2 separate regions of the Homo sapiens genome follow, and region 2 is linked to region 1. Evidence: promoter capture Hi-C in human tissues and cell types (Jung and others, 2019). All regions are on one chromosome and are shown on one strand. Each heading gives the region's core, a stretch centred on a gene start or on the middle of the fragment in contact. The rest is flanking DNA. Distances are from core to core; before and after follow the strand shown.

The links. The method cuts DNA at HindIII sites, captures the fragments that hold promoters and counts their contacts. A contact is called where the count stands out against the background at its distance.
Region 2: a contact is called between a fragment that was not itself captured here and the fragment with the promoter of PLD4 in region 1, in 1 of the 25 tissues and cell types used here (dorsolateral prefrontal cortex).

Annotation. Positions count from the first base shown.
Region 1 is chr14:104,921,352-104,927,488 of GRCh38, forward strand. It overlaps PLD4 (phospholipase D family member 4), which reads left to right and starts at 3,528. Exons shown (of 11, transcript NM_138790.5): 1 at 3,528-3,639; 2 at 5,790-5,879. The coding sequence starts at 5,790. RefSeq lists enhancers at 1,257-1,306, 3,701-3,870, 3,853-4,362. The HindIII fragment of the contact is 18,191 bases long and covers 1-6,137 here.
Region 2 is chr14:105,285,506-105,291,680 of GRCh38, forward strand. It overlaps BRF1 (BRF1 general transcription factor IIIB subunit), which reads right to left. Exons shown (of 18, transcript NM_001519.4): 2 at 791-871. Among named protein-coding and RNA genes, the nearest start is that of BRF1, 12 kb to the right of the region's middle. RefSeq lists an enhancer at 418-1,316. The HindIII fragment of the contact is 6,229 bases long and covers 1-4,613 here.

The DNA of each region.
Region 1 (6,137 bases), core at 2,278-4,777:
TTTTTGTAAGTTTGGTAGAATTTAGTAGTAAAGCCATCTGGTCTATAGGCCTTTTGCGTTGTTGTTGGGAGATTTTTATTACTGTTCCAATCTCATCACTCCTTATTGATCTGTTCGGGTTTTTTTGTTTCTTCCTGATTCAATCTCGGCAGCTACGCGTGTCCAGGGATGTCTCCATTTCCTCCAGGTTTCCAGTTTCTGAGTGTATAATTTCTCATGTAGTCTCTGGTGATCTTTTGTATTTCTGTGATATCAGTTGTAATGTCTCTTTTTTGTTTCTGGTTTTGGTTATTTGGGTTGTCTCTCTTTTTTTCTTCATTATCAACTTAGAATATTTTCAGCTTCCATTTATGATGGGCTTATCAGGACATAGCTCCACCATGAGGTGAGGTGTGTCTGATGTGCTTACGGTGGGGTTTAAGTGCTCCCACAAGCCTGCTCTGACAGTCTGTACTTATTTGGGGTAAAAAACAAAAAAAAACAAAAAAAAAAAAAACAAAAAACTTAGCTCTGCTGACAAATAATGAGTCATATTTTCCCACAAAGTTAATTTTTGAAATAACAAAGGAAATTAAAGAAAAAATGTTCAGGCTGGGCACGGTGGCTCACACCTGTAATCCCAGCACTTTGGGAGGCCGAGGCAGGCAGATCACGAGGTCAGGAGATTGAGACCATCCTGGCTAACACGGTGAAACCCCGTCTCTACTAAAAATACAAAAAATTAGCTGGGCGTGGTGGCGGGCACCTGTAGTCCCAGCTACTCGGGAGGCTGAGGCAGGAGAATGGCGTGAACCTGGGAGGCAGAGCTTGCAGTGAGCCAAGATCACACCACTGCACTCCAGCCTGGGCGACAGAGCGAGACTCCGTCCAAAAAAAAAAAAAGTAAAATGACAGGAAAAGATATAACATTCAAACAGCAACTCAAAGAGAGGTGGAGTTCCTATACTAATATCAGAAAATATAGATATTAAGACAAAAATTATTGTTAGAGACAAAGAAGGATGTGTTATAATGATAAGAGGGTGATCCATAAGGAAGATATAATAACTAGAAACACATATGCACTAGCTGGGCACGGTGGCTCATGCCTGTAATCTCAGCACTTTGGGAGCCTGAGGCGGGTGGATCACGAGGTCAGGAGATTGAGACCATCCTGGCTAACACGGTGAAACCCCGTCTCTACTAAAAATACAAAAAATTAGCTGGGCATGGTGGCGGGCGCCTGTAGTCCCAGCTACTCTGGAGGCTGAGGCAGGAGAATGGCCTGAACCTGGGAGGCGGAGCTTGCAGTGAGCCGAGATGGCGCCACTACACTCCAGCCTGGGCGACAGAGCAAGACTCCATCTCAAAAAAAAAAAAAGTTTTGCTTCATGGGAAATCCCCAAAGTCCCTCCCCACACCCCATGGGACCAAAGGGCCCTAGACCTCAGGGTGGGGCCTGCAGCGCAGGGAGCAGAGCCGGCAAGGAGCTGCCCTCAGGTCGTTCCTGGCCACACAGCCAGCCTCGGAGCCACTGAGAGGCCTGCCCTGGGTCCCGAATCTAGACGCCCCTTCCAGCCTCAATCTTTCTTCCAGGGTAAGCAGCCTGAGAGGCCAAGAGGACAGTCCACCGAACCCTGAGCCCAAGGCCCAGGATTCCTTGCTTAAACATCCCCAAGCCTGGATCCATCCTCCCGAGGTAGAGCTGCCTGAGCTGTACCCAGTCCTGCTGGCCTGAGGGGCAGCCAGGGGAGGTGACGTGGTGCTTTTCTGGGGCTGCAATGAGCTCAGACCCACGGGCTGGGTGTAGCATGTGGGCTCATTGAGGCCCCTCACAATGTGGGGAAATCGGAGAGGGGACTGGCTGGGGCTGGCCCTCCTGCAAGGACTTCTGAGAGTGCTCCAAGGAGCCCTGGGGTCCTCCACTTGCCCCTGGCCTTCCAGGCCCTCACACACCATTGTTGTCCAGACAGAAGAGACTGGGCGCTGTGGTTCACGCCTGTAATCCCAGCACTTTGGGAGGCCGAGGCGGGTGGATCATCTGAGTTCAGGAGTTCGAGACCAGCCTGGCCAACATGGTGAAACCCCGTCTCTAATAAAAAATACAAAAATTAGCCGGGCGTGGTGGCACGTGCCTTAATCCCAGCTACTTGGGAGACAGAGGCAGGAGAATCGTATGAACTCGGGAGGCAGAAGTTGCAGTGAGCCGAGATAAAGCCGTTGCACTCAAACCTGGGGTACAAGAGCGAGACTTCTCTCAAAGGAAAAAGAAAAAAAAAAAGACAGAAGAGAACCTGTTCTGTCTAACTGCCTTTTGCTTGAGTGCAGGGAAGGCAGCCTCCCTTCATACTCATGCCCCAGCCCTGCAAATGTCACAGCAGGACCCACCTGGCTGCCCCTCCCCATACCCAGAGTAACCCTCACCCAGAGTCCCTGGAGGACCCAACCCTCGGGGGCATGCCTGGGGCCCAGCTGCATTCAGGCATCCAGCAACCCAGCCAGAGGGCTGGGGCTCCCCAACCATGGCCGGGAGGTAAGGGCTGAACCCAAGGCCAAATCAGAGCATCAGGAAGGTGAAGAGAGATCTGGGAGGGGCTAGGGAGAGGATGGATCTCTTCCCCATTCACTTCCTGGCCCACCCAGACTGGCCCCAGGGGTGCAGCTGACAGGCCCCACCCTTGGGAACTGCACCCTCCTGACTGGTGTCCTGCAGGCACCCTGAGGCCATCACCCTGGACCCCTGCCCTACATAGGCCTTACAAGGAGGAGCCAGGGTGGACACCCAGACCTCATTGAAAGTAGGAGTGTTCTCAAGGTCCCAGACCTTACTCAGGGACCCCAGTCGGGGGGTGGGGCAGTGGGAGGCAGAGCCCCTTGCTAGGAGCTTCTAGCCAGGCCCACCTTTTCAGATATGCCAGTGAGCAGCCCCAGCTTCGTTCTCCAAGATAAAGACCCTAGTTACCTCCATTGCTCAGCCTCCCTTGCAGCTAAGTGTAGCCATGTGACTAAGTTCTAGATCAAGTTCCAGATCACAGATAAGTGGAAGTGCCCTGTGGGACTTCCAGGAAGTCTCCTCTGGGATGTCCCTTATTCTCTGCTAAGAACACAGAGGCAATGGCTGAGTTCCAGCAGCCACTGTGAGGCCATGAAGGCAGGGATCCTAGGGACTGGGATCTGAGAGCCTGGCTCCCAATGGCAGTGGAGCAATGCCATCATCTCTAGCAAGGCCGTCTCTAGCCTGCCAGCCCCTGGACCTGCTTAGTGTTCGAGAGTAATGAACAACCTTGCTGAAGCCACTGTTCCTTAGGTGTCTGTGGCCTGCAGCTGAACTTGACTCCGATTCGTAGGCCCGCAACTGGAGGGCCTCTACCTCGAGGGAGTGGGGTGTAGATTTTTCCTGGAGGTGAAGGTTCTCAGCCCTACCCTCTAGCCCGCCCACCCAGCTCCAGCCGTCTGTTTCTGTCTCAGATGAGAGGGGGCCTCTCAGGACAAAGAGGAAGTAGCTGGAAGGGGAAGGAGCCAGCTGCAGAGAGGAGGAGGTGAGCTGCAGAGAAGAGGAGGTTGGTGTGGAGCACAGGCAGCACCGAGCCTGCCCCGTGAGCTGAGGGCCTGCAGTCTGCGGCTGGAATCAGGATAGACACCAAGGCAGGACCCCCAGAGGTATGTGCCAATGAGGCCAGGGCAGCTGAGAAAAGCCAGGCATGGGGAAAGGGCTGCTGTCTGCCTCCCTATGGCCTCAGCCTCCCAGCAACCCCAGGTCCAGAGAGTCACACAGCCTCCAGCTAGTCCTGTAGATGACTCGCTCCGTCCCCAGTCCGTGCAGCTGGGATAAGCTGGGCCCTGGCTCTCCAGCCAGGTGACAGCTGGGCCCTCTACCTCAGCCTGGGACTGGCAGCCATGCCTAATGCCCTGCAGGGCAGGAAATCTGGCACCTTCAGCCATGACCTCTGATGTCTGCAGGGTCTTACGCTATCTACCATGGGACCAGGGGGCTACAGCCCTACTCTGCAGGGGTCTCTCAGCTTGAGCCAACCTGGCTGGCGGTCCTCCCAGGTTCCATTGCAGGAGGAGGTGGTGAGGCGCTCTGGGGTCTGTAGTCCTGGGAGGGGACTTGGACAGGCTCCAAGTCTGAGATGGGGCCTGCAAGAGGCAGCGCCTCTGTGCTCTGAGCTGCCCGTCTGCCTGGAGCATTTAAGGGAGCAAAGGTCCTCTCTGGTGAGGGCAGGGAGTGTGGGGAGCAGCTGTCCAAGAACAGCCCTGGCACCTCGTTGCCCAGCCACAGCCCAGGATTCCATGTTTCCTCTCATTGACCAGCCACAGCCCAGGATTCCATGTTTCCTCTTCTGAGAGTTAGTGGGGGAGAGCAAAGGCCCGATGCTGGGCCCTGAATCCCTGGGGACAGTGGGGACACGGTGGGCACCCTGAGGTCTCCTCTGTGGGGTGGGGGGAGCATCCCCCAGAGTTCAGCTCTGGGGTGGGGGCGGCACCCACCCACCTCTGCAGGACCCCCCAGCGTGGGGGGAGTTGGGCCGCAGTGACTTGGCCTGAGTCCCCTGTCCCCACACTTGGTTTATGCTCCTACCCCCAATCCCCCATAACGCTTGGTCTCCAGGGCAGACTCAGTCCAGGCCCGACTCCTGTGGTGTTCCTGGCATTTCCGCCCCATGCTGAGGCAGGCCAGGTTCTCAAAGCCCTCAGCCCTGACCCGTGGGAGGACAGCCCAGACGAACCCCAGAGGCCTGGAGGCTGAGCTGGCTGCTCCTGGGTGGACAGCCGACCCACCGAGCCCTGGGTCCCAGCGCCCAGCCTGGCTGCAGACACTGGCACTCAGCACTGCCCAGGCCCAGGCCCCAAACCTCGGAGACATCCCCATCCCAGCCAGGGGCCAGCCAGCTCCTGCCCTGGTGGATGTCTCAGTCAGAGGCTGGCCAGCCAGGTGACCATGCTGGGCACAGACCCCTCCCTGCACCCGGGGAGGGCGCCTCTGTACTTGTGAGGCACCCTTCCCCCATGGTGGCACCTGGGGCAGCCTGACTGCTTGCTTTGGGGGTAGGAGTGGGGATGGGAGCCCACATCCCACAGGGCCCAGATGGCCTGGCTCCCAGCTCCTTGTGGGGTGACCACTCTGAGGAGATAAGGCGAGTCCCTGCAGCAGAGGACAACCCCCTCTGCCAGCAGTAGGGGTCCCACTCTGCCGCCATCTCTGCCCTCTCCACGCCTAGCCTCTCCAGCAAGGGTACTGCTCAGCTGCCCCCTCTGACCTGTGGCTCTCTGGAGGGGCTGCCGTGGGGCCAAGACAGGAGCCCAGCCCAGGAGGGAAGCAGTTATTTATAGGCCAGCAATAAGAGGACCAAGCGACAAAAGCAGAAACAGCCCTTTCAGACGCAGTTTCAGTTGTGGTTGAAACAGGGAACTGAGATGCAAATACCTAGATACTCACTGAGTGGGAGACCCTGAAAGGGGAGACACAGAAAGCCGGGGCATGTGGCTAGGCACAGACGCCCGCCCGCCCCTCGTGCTTGGCCCAGGCTCAGCCCTGGGGACCGCCTTAACAGCAGTCCTTCCGGCTTGGCCAGGGGGACAGGACAGGTGACATGTGGCCGGCTGCGGGCTCCAACACCCACACGGCTTGTCCTCGTGGAAAGCACACCCCCAACATCCAGGGCGTGACCTCGGGCATGAGTGGGGGGCTTTTGGGGGCTTATGTGGGTGTCTGTGCAGGGGTGTCCCCAGTGCCCAGCTGCCCAGGCACTGAGGGGCAGTTCTGGGCAGAGCTGGAGCTGCTGGTGATGCCAGGCTGCCCTGTGCAGATGCTGAAGCCTCTTTGGAAAGCAGCAGTGGCCCCCACATGGCCATGCTCCATGCCGCCCCGCCGCCCGTGGGACAGAGAGGCTGGCACGGTAGGACTGGGGGGCCCCAGGGGGGAGGTGGCTGGGATCAATGGCCTTTCAAGAGCTCCGAGCCAGAGTGGAGAGGTCACAAGCAGCCTTGAGGGGGCCTCCAAGCAGAGGTGCCCTGACTGGTGGGCAAGGGAAGCCTCCCTGGGCTGCTCCAGACCTTCCCTTTATGCCCCTGCTGGAGGTGCTGGGGACAGCCAGTTACCACGAGCCACAGCATTGCAGAGTGGGCTGCAGGCCCCCTGACCCCTGCCACCACCC
Region 2 (6,175 bases), core at 249-2,748, 360 kb after region 1:
TGACTCAATATGGACCAAAACCTACTGGAAAGAGAGGAAGGCGCAAAACTCCAAAAAATCATAAGCACAAATCTTCACGATTTGGACTGGATTAGGCAACATTTGTTAGTTATGATACCAAAAGCACAGCCATCAAGAGACTAAATAGGTAAACTGGATACTATCAGAATTTAAAACTTTCATGCTCCAAAGGATACCAGCGAAAAATAAAAAGACAAAAGAAAATGAAAAGAACGCATGAAATGGCTGAAAATGTCCTATAAATCACACATCCGATAAAAGACTTGTACCTAAAACACATAAAATCACACATCCGATAAACGACTTGCACCTAAAATATATAAAATCACACATCCGATAAAAGACTTGTACCTAAAACACATAAAGAACTTTTTCAACTCAATCATAAGACAAATAACCCAGCAGACATTTCTCCAGTTTGTGGTGAACTGGCACTTTGACAAAACGCAGTGAGAATGTCACTACAATATCCAACTGCTATAAATGTGTTATTTCTGCCTCCATCTCACTGAGGCCATCAAGCAATGGCTGTGGATCCTGTGGGATCCACTGGGTTCTCCCCAAACAGCCCTGGCAGAGTCTGCAGGACACCCAGGAGGGGACTCAGGGCACAATTCCTCCTGGAAAGCAGCCTGGGCTGGGCGTGCAGGGTGACGAGGAAGTGGCAGGCCATGAGGTCCATGGCTGAGTCAGTGCCCTCCACCCTAGCACCACCATCCCCATCTCTGGGACCCGCCGCACGCTCAGCAGCATCCGCGGTGGGAAATACCATTCTGCAGGGTCTGCGCTCTCGACTCCTTCCCCAGATTCACGTGGAAGCCGCCACCCAGAGTCGGGGTTTTGCCAGCACCTGGAAACACAAAAAAAGACAGATCAGCCAAAACTTGGAGATCTGCATTTACAACCCTTTCCTAACATCCACAGACACAAAGTGAGAACAAAGCGGGGGTCAGCACTCATGGGGGAAGCAGCAGGTCGGCCCCCCGCACCTCCGTCACTGAGCCAGGAACCCCAGTGGGGGAAGCATCTCTCACTCTGCCCAGCCAGCAGGGTTGAGGGTGGGCCAACTGCACTTTCCGCATTTTCTTTTTTTTTTTGAGACGGAGTCTCCCTCTGTTGCCCAGGCTGGAGTGCAGTGGTCCCATCTCCACTCACTGCAAGCTCCGCCTCCTGGGTTCACGCCATTCTCCTGCCTCAGCCTTCCAAGTAGCTGGGACTATAGGTGCCCGCCACCACGCCCGGCTGGGATTACAGGCACTTTCTGCATTTTCTAACCATGTCCCTAACACACTGCAAGTCCAGAGTGGACGCTGTCAAATGGCTGCCGGGCGAGAACACAGATGTACCTCCAAACCTCTGCAAGTGGTGCACACACAGCATGGGCTGGCCGTCCCCCTTGCCCCAGGCCAGCCCACTCAGATATCACTCCTGCATGGTGACCACATGTGAACACATCCACCTCCCTGCTGGACTGCAGGGGACGCAGGTACCATCCCATGTGCCCCAAGGCACTGCAACCAGCCAGTCTGCAGAAGGCCCCCACGCCTCAGTCCACCCACCCATGGGGAGGCTGCAGCTGAACCTGCTGGACACTCTACTCCGAAGCTCTGCCAACTGACAGCATGCCTACGACGTCCACCACATTCTGCCCTGCAGGGCTTCGGGGTTAAGACCTGGCCCTGGTACCTCTGGAAACATCAGGTGGACATTTGGATTGTTCACCAGGTTCACCAGCCCGATCGCTGCAGCCTGATCTCCCAATGAGCATGGTGGACATGTGGATTGTTCACCAGGTTCACCAACCCAAACGCTGCGGCCTGATCTTCCAACGAGAACAGTAAGGTGAGGCCCCAGGCATGCCCAAAGATGGGGAGAGCTGGAAAGTGCCCCCCGCCCCGCAGCGTCGGCCCTCAGTGGTTGGCACAGGGGCCAGTGCATTTGTGACAAAGCACAGACACAGGACTGGAGGCTGCTGCAATCGGGACGCGCAGACAACCTTGGCCACTTGGGGGAAGGCAAGTGTGTAGGGCCTGTCGGAGGACACTGGAAGGATAGGATGCAGAAGCAGAAAGCCAATCGCTGGAGCCTGGGGCCAGGCCCTCCAGGGAAACCATGAGGCAGGGACCTCAGCGTCATCCAGGGGCAGCCACCAGCACAGACAAGGCAGAACAGGCACGGCCTCTGGCTTCACAATGAATGTAACTGAATCCCAAACAAATACTAACAACACTCTTTAAAGACTCCAGTAAAATGATTCTAAAGTTCAGTTGGAAGCAAAAAGGAATTAGAGCAGCCAAGAAAAGTTTTGAAGAGAGCAAGGGGCAGCTACTGGGCCCGTCCGGAAACTCAGAGCTGAACAGGGTCAGGTGGCACTCAGCTTTTCCTGGTGGCAGCAGAGGCAAAGCCCGGGCCTCCTTCAGGCTGAGGCCCAGAGCCGGCCTCCTGGTGGGTAACGTGGCCACAGGGGTGGCCGGCAGCAGCAGCAGGGCACCAGCACTGAGCACAGGCCTCCAACAAAGGTGGTGCCGGGACGGGGGCAGTGCCTGGAGACTACCTAGGTTGTCACAACTGGGATCTATGTACTAGTTTTCTGTGGCTGCCATAAAAATTGCCACAAACCTAGTGGCTTTCAAGAAGCTGTAGAAGGTCCGGGCGCGGTGGCTCACGCTTGTAATCCCGGCACTTTGGGAGGCCGAGGTGGGTGGATCACGAGGTCAGGAGATCGAGACCATCTTGGCGAACATGGTGAAACTCTGTCTCTACTAAAAATACAAAATTAGCCAGGCGTGGTGGCGGGTGCCTGTGATCCCAGCTACTCAGGAGGCTGAGGCAGGAGAATCGCTTGAACCCAGGAGGTGGAGGTTGCAGTGAGCAGAGATGGTGCCACTGCACTCCAGCCTGGGTGACAGAGCAAGACTCCGTCTCAAAAAAATAAAAATAAAAATAAAAATAAAATAAAGTAAAAAAGAAGCTGGAGTGGTGGCCGGGCATGGTGGCTCACACCTGTGGTCCCAACACTTTGGGAGGCCGGAGCAGGAAGATCGCCCAACCCAGGAGTTCAATACCAGCCTGGGCAACACGGGGAGACCCATTTCTTTCTTTCTTTCTTTCTTTTTTTTTTTTTTGAAACAGAGTTTCGCTCTGTCACCCAGGCTGGAGTGCAGTGGCGTGATCTTGGCTCACTGCAAGCTCTGCCTCCTGGGTTCATGCCATTCTCCTGCCTCAGCCTCCCGAGTAGCTGGGACTACAGGTGCCTGCAACCACGCCCGGCTAATTTTTTGTGTTTTTAGTAGAGACGGGGTTTCACTGTGTTAGCCAGGATGGGGGGAGACCCATTTCTACAAAAAAAAACTGAAAAAAATTAGCTGGGTGTGGTGGCACCTGCTTGTGGTCCTACTACTCAGGAGGCTGAGGTTGGAGGATCACTAGAGCCCGGGAGGTCGAGGCTGCAATGAGCTGAGATCGTGCCACTGCACTCCAGCCTGGGTGACAGAGCAAGACCCTGTCTCAAAAAAAAAAAAAAAAAGAAGCTAGAACAGGCCAGGCATAGTGGCTCACATCTGTAATCACAGCACTTTGAGAGGCTGAGGCAGGAAGACTGCTTGAGCCCAGGAGTTCAAGACCAGCCTGGACAACATAGCAAGATCCCATCTCTACAAAAAAAAAATGAGCGGGGTATGGTAGGGCATGCCTGTGGTCCCAGCTACTCAGGTGGCTGAGGCAGGCAGATCGTTTGAGTCCAGAAGGTGGAGGCTGCAGTGAGCTGTGATGCACCTCTGCACTCCAGCCTGAGCAACACGGTGAGAACCTGTCTGAACAAATAATAAACTAAACAGAAGCTGGAGCAGGTCGCAGTGGTGTCTCCTTGTGGGGGCTGGAGAGGACCTGGCAGGGCCACAGTGAGGTGCCTGCTGATATGAGAATCCAGAAGAGAGGCCAGGGAGAAACGCAGGACTCAGGAGAGACCCATCCTGGAATAAGGGGGCTTTGAGCAGCACTGATGAGCCAATTCTAAATTCTGCAGAAATCTGGCCCAGGCCTCCCCAGGCTGAGCTCCAGGTGCCTGCAACTCCGACCCTCCCTCAGAGTTCTTTGTTTTGTGAGCAGTGTGTATTCTTTTTTTTTTTGAGACGGAGTCTCGCTCTATCGCCCAGGCTGGAGTGTAGTGGTGCGATCTCGGCTCACTGCAACCTCCGCCTCCCGGATTCAAGCAATTCTCCTGCTTCAGCCTCCTGAGTAGCTGGAACTACAGGTGCGTGCCACCACGCCCAGCTGATTTTTGTATTTTTACTAGAGATGAGGTTTCACCACGTTGGCCAGGCTGGCCTTGAATTCCCGACCTCAAGTGATCCACCCACCTCGGCCTCCCAAAGTGCTGGGATTACAGGCGTGAGCCACCACGCCCCGCCTGTTTTTTCTAAGCGTTCGAATTAAGATCACCATTCTGTGTAGCCCCTGGCATGCTGGTCTCCAGCACATGCTCCCTCACCAACTTTCACTTTAGAAAAAGAAAAATCTCACTATATTCTAATTAGTGTATATAATGCTTTTAATAAATAACTCATATAACACTACATTAGAAAAAGGACAATGATCAAAGTATAAAAAGCCAGCTGGGTGCAGTGGCTCACGCCTATAACCCCAGCACTTTGGGAGGCCGATGCGGTTGGATCACCTGAGGTTGGGAGTTCGAGACCAGCCTAACCAACAAGGAGAAACCCCGTGTCTACTAAAAATATGAAATTACCCAGGCATGGTGGCACATGCCTGTAATCCCAGCTACTCAGGAGGCTGAAGCGGGAGAATCACTTGAACCTGGGAGGCAGAGGTTGTGGTGAGCCGAGATCGCGCCATTGCACTCCAGCCTGGGCAACAAGAGCGAAACTCCATCTCAAAAACAAATAAATAAAAAGCCCCTGAAGCCCCACCTTCCAAGAACAGGGGACGCCGTACAGCCTCCATTATAGCCACGTTTCCCTGCCTAGGTACAGTGGGCTGCAGGCGTGCTTCTGACAGAACAGGGCCACAGTGAGATGCCACGTTAAATTACAGTGATGATTTCGATTCTGGTTGTGTTTTACGCAATCTCTTCACTCCTTGACCCATACCCATCAGCTTGCACCACAGCACACTGCAAAGCTGCATGCGTCAGCAGCTCCACGCTCCACCTGCCACCTCTGCCCTCCCTCCTCCATCACTCTGTCTTGCACCCTCCAGCCTCCCATACCCTCCTCACACCCCAGGACCTCTGTTTCCTGTCCCTGTGTTGTTCTCCCTGTCCCCCAACACCACAGTCACCCTCCCTGGGGCCACGCTGCTGCACCTGCTCTGGAAGCGCCTCCTGGCTTCTGCTTGCCTCACACCCTGGTGCGTGCACACTTGCAGGCACACACACACAGGACACATGTGGACAGTGTGAAACCTCAGAACACTAACCCACAGGGAGGATGAAAGAGGAAAGTGCCACCTCTGGCTGAAACTGCCAGGATGCCCTCTACTTCTAAAAACATTTGGTATTTTCCATAGCGTGTTTCTATAACAAAAAATATGTGCTAGTTCCCGTTAGCTGGAACTGACATGTGGAAGGGGCCAGGTCTTGTGGGGCCTGGCCAAGACTGCCCCCCTGTGTACAGCAAGGGAGGACCTGCGGTTCCACCAGAGCCAGAGCAGGGCCAGAGGCCGCAGGGGCACCTCTGAGCTCCGACAAAGCCAGCAACACCCCATACCGCCGAACAGACAGAAAGGCGGGCCAGGGGCCCTCCATGTCCTGAAAGACCCAGCACAGCACTGTCCATTTCACACCAGGATTCTTCCAACATGAGAAAGCAATAACCTTTAATATTCACGTGCTCATTCAACTTAACTGGGGGCGGGCTCAGTGGCTCATGACAGTAATCTCGGCATTTTGGGAGGCCGATGTGGGTGGGTCACTTGAGGTCAGAAGTTCAAGACCAGCCTGGCCAACAGGGCGAAACCCCGTCTCTACTAAAACATACAAAAAAAAAATTAGCCAGGCATGGTGGTGTGCTCCTGTAGTCCCAGCTACTCGGGAGGCTGAGGCAGGAGAACTGCTTGAACCCAGGAGATGGAGGTTGCAGTGAGCCAAGACTCTGTCAAAAAAAAATTTTTTTTTAACTGGAGACTTTCTGTTGCT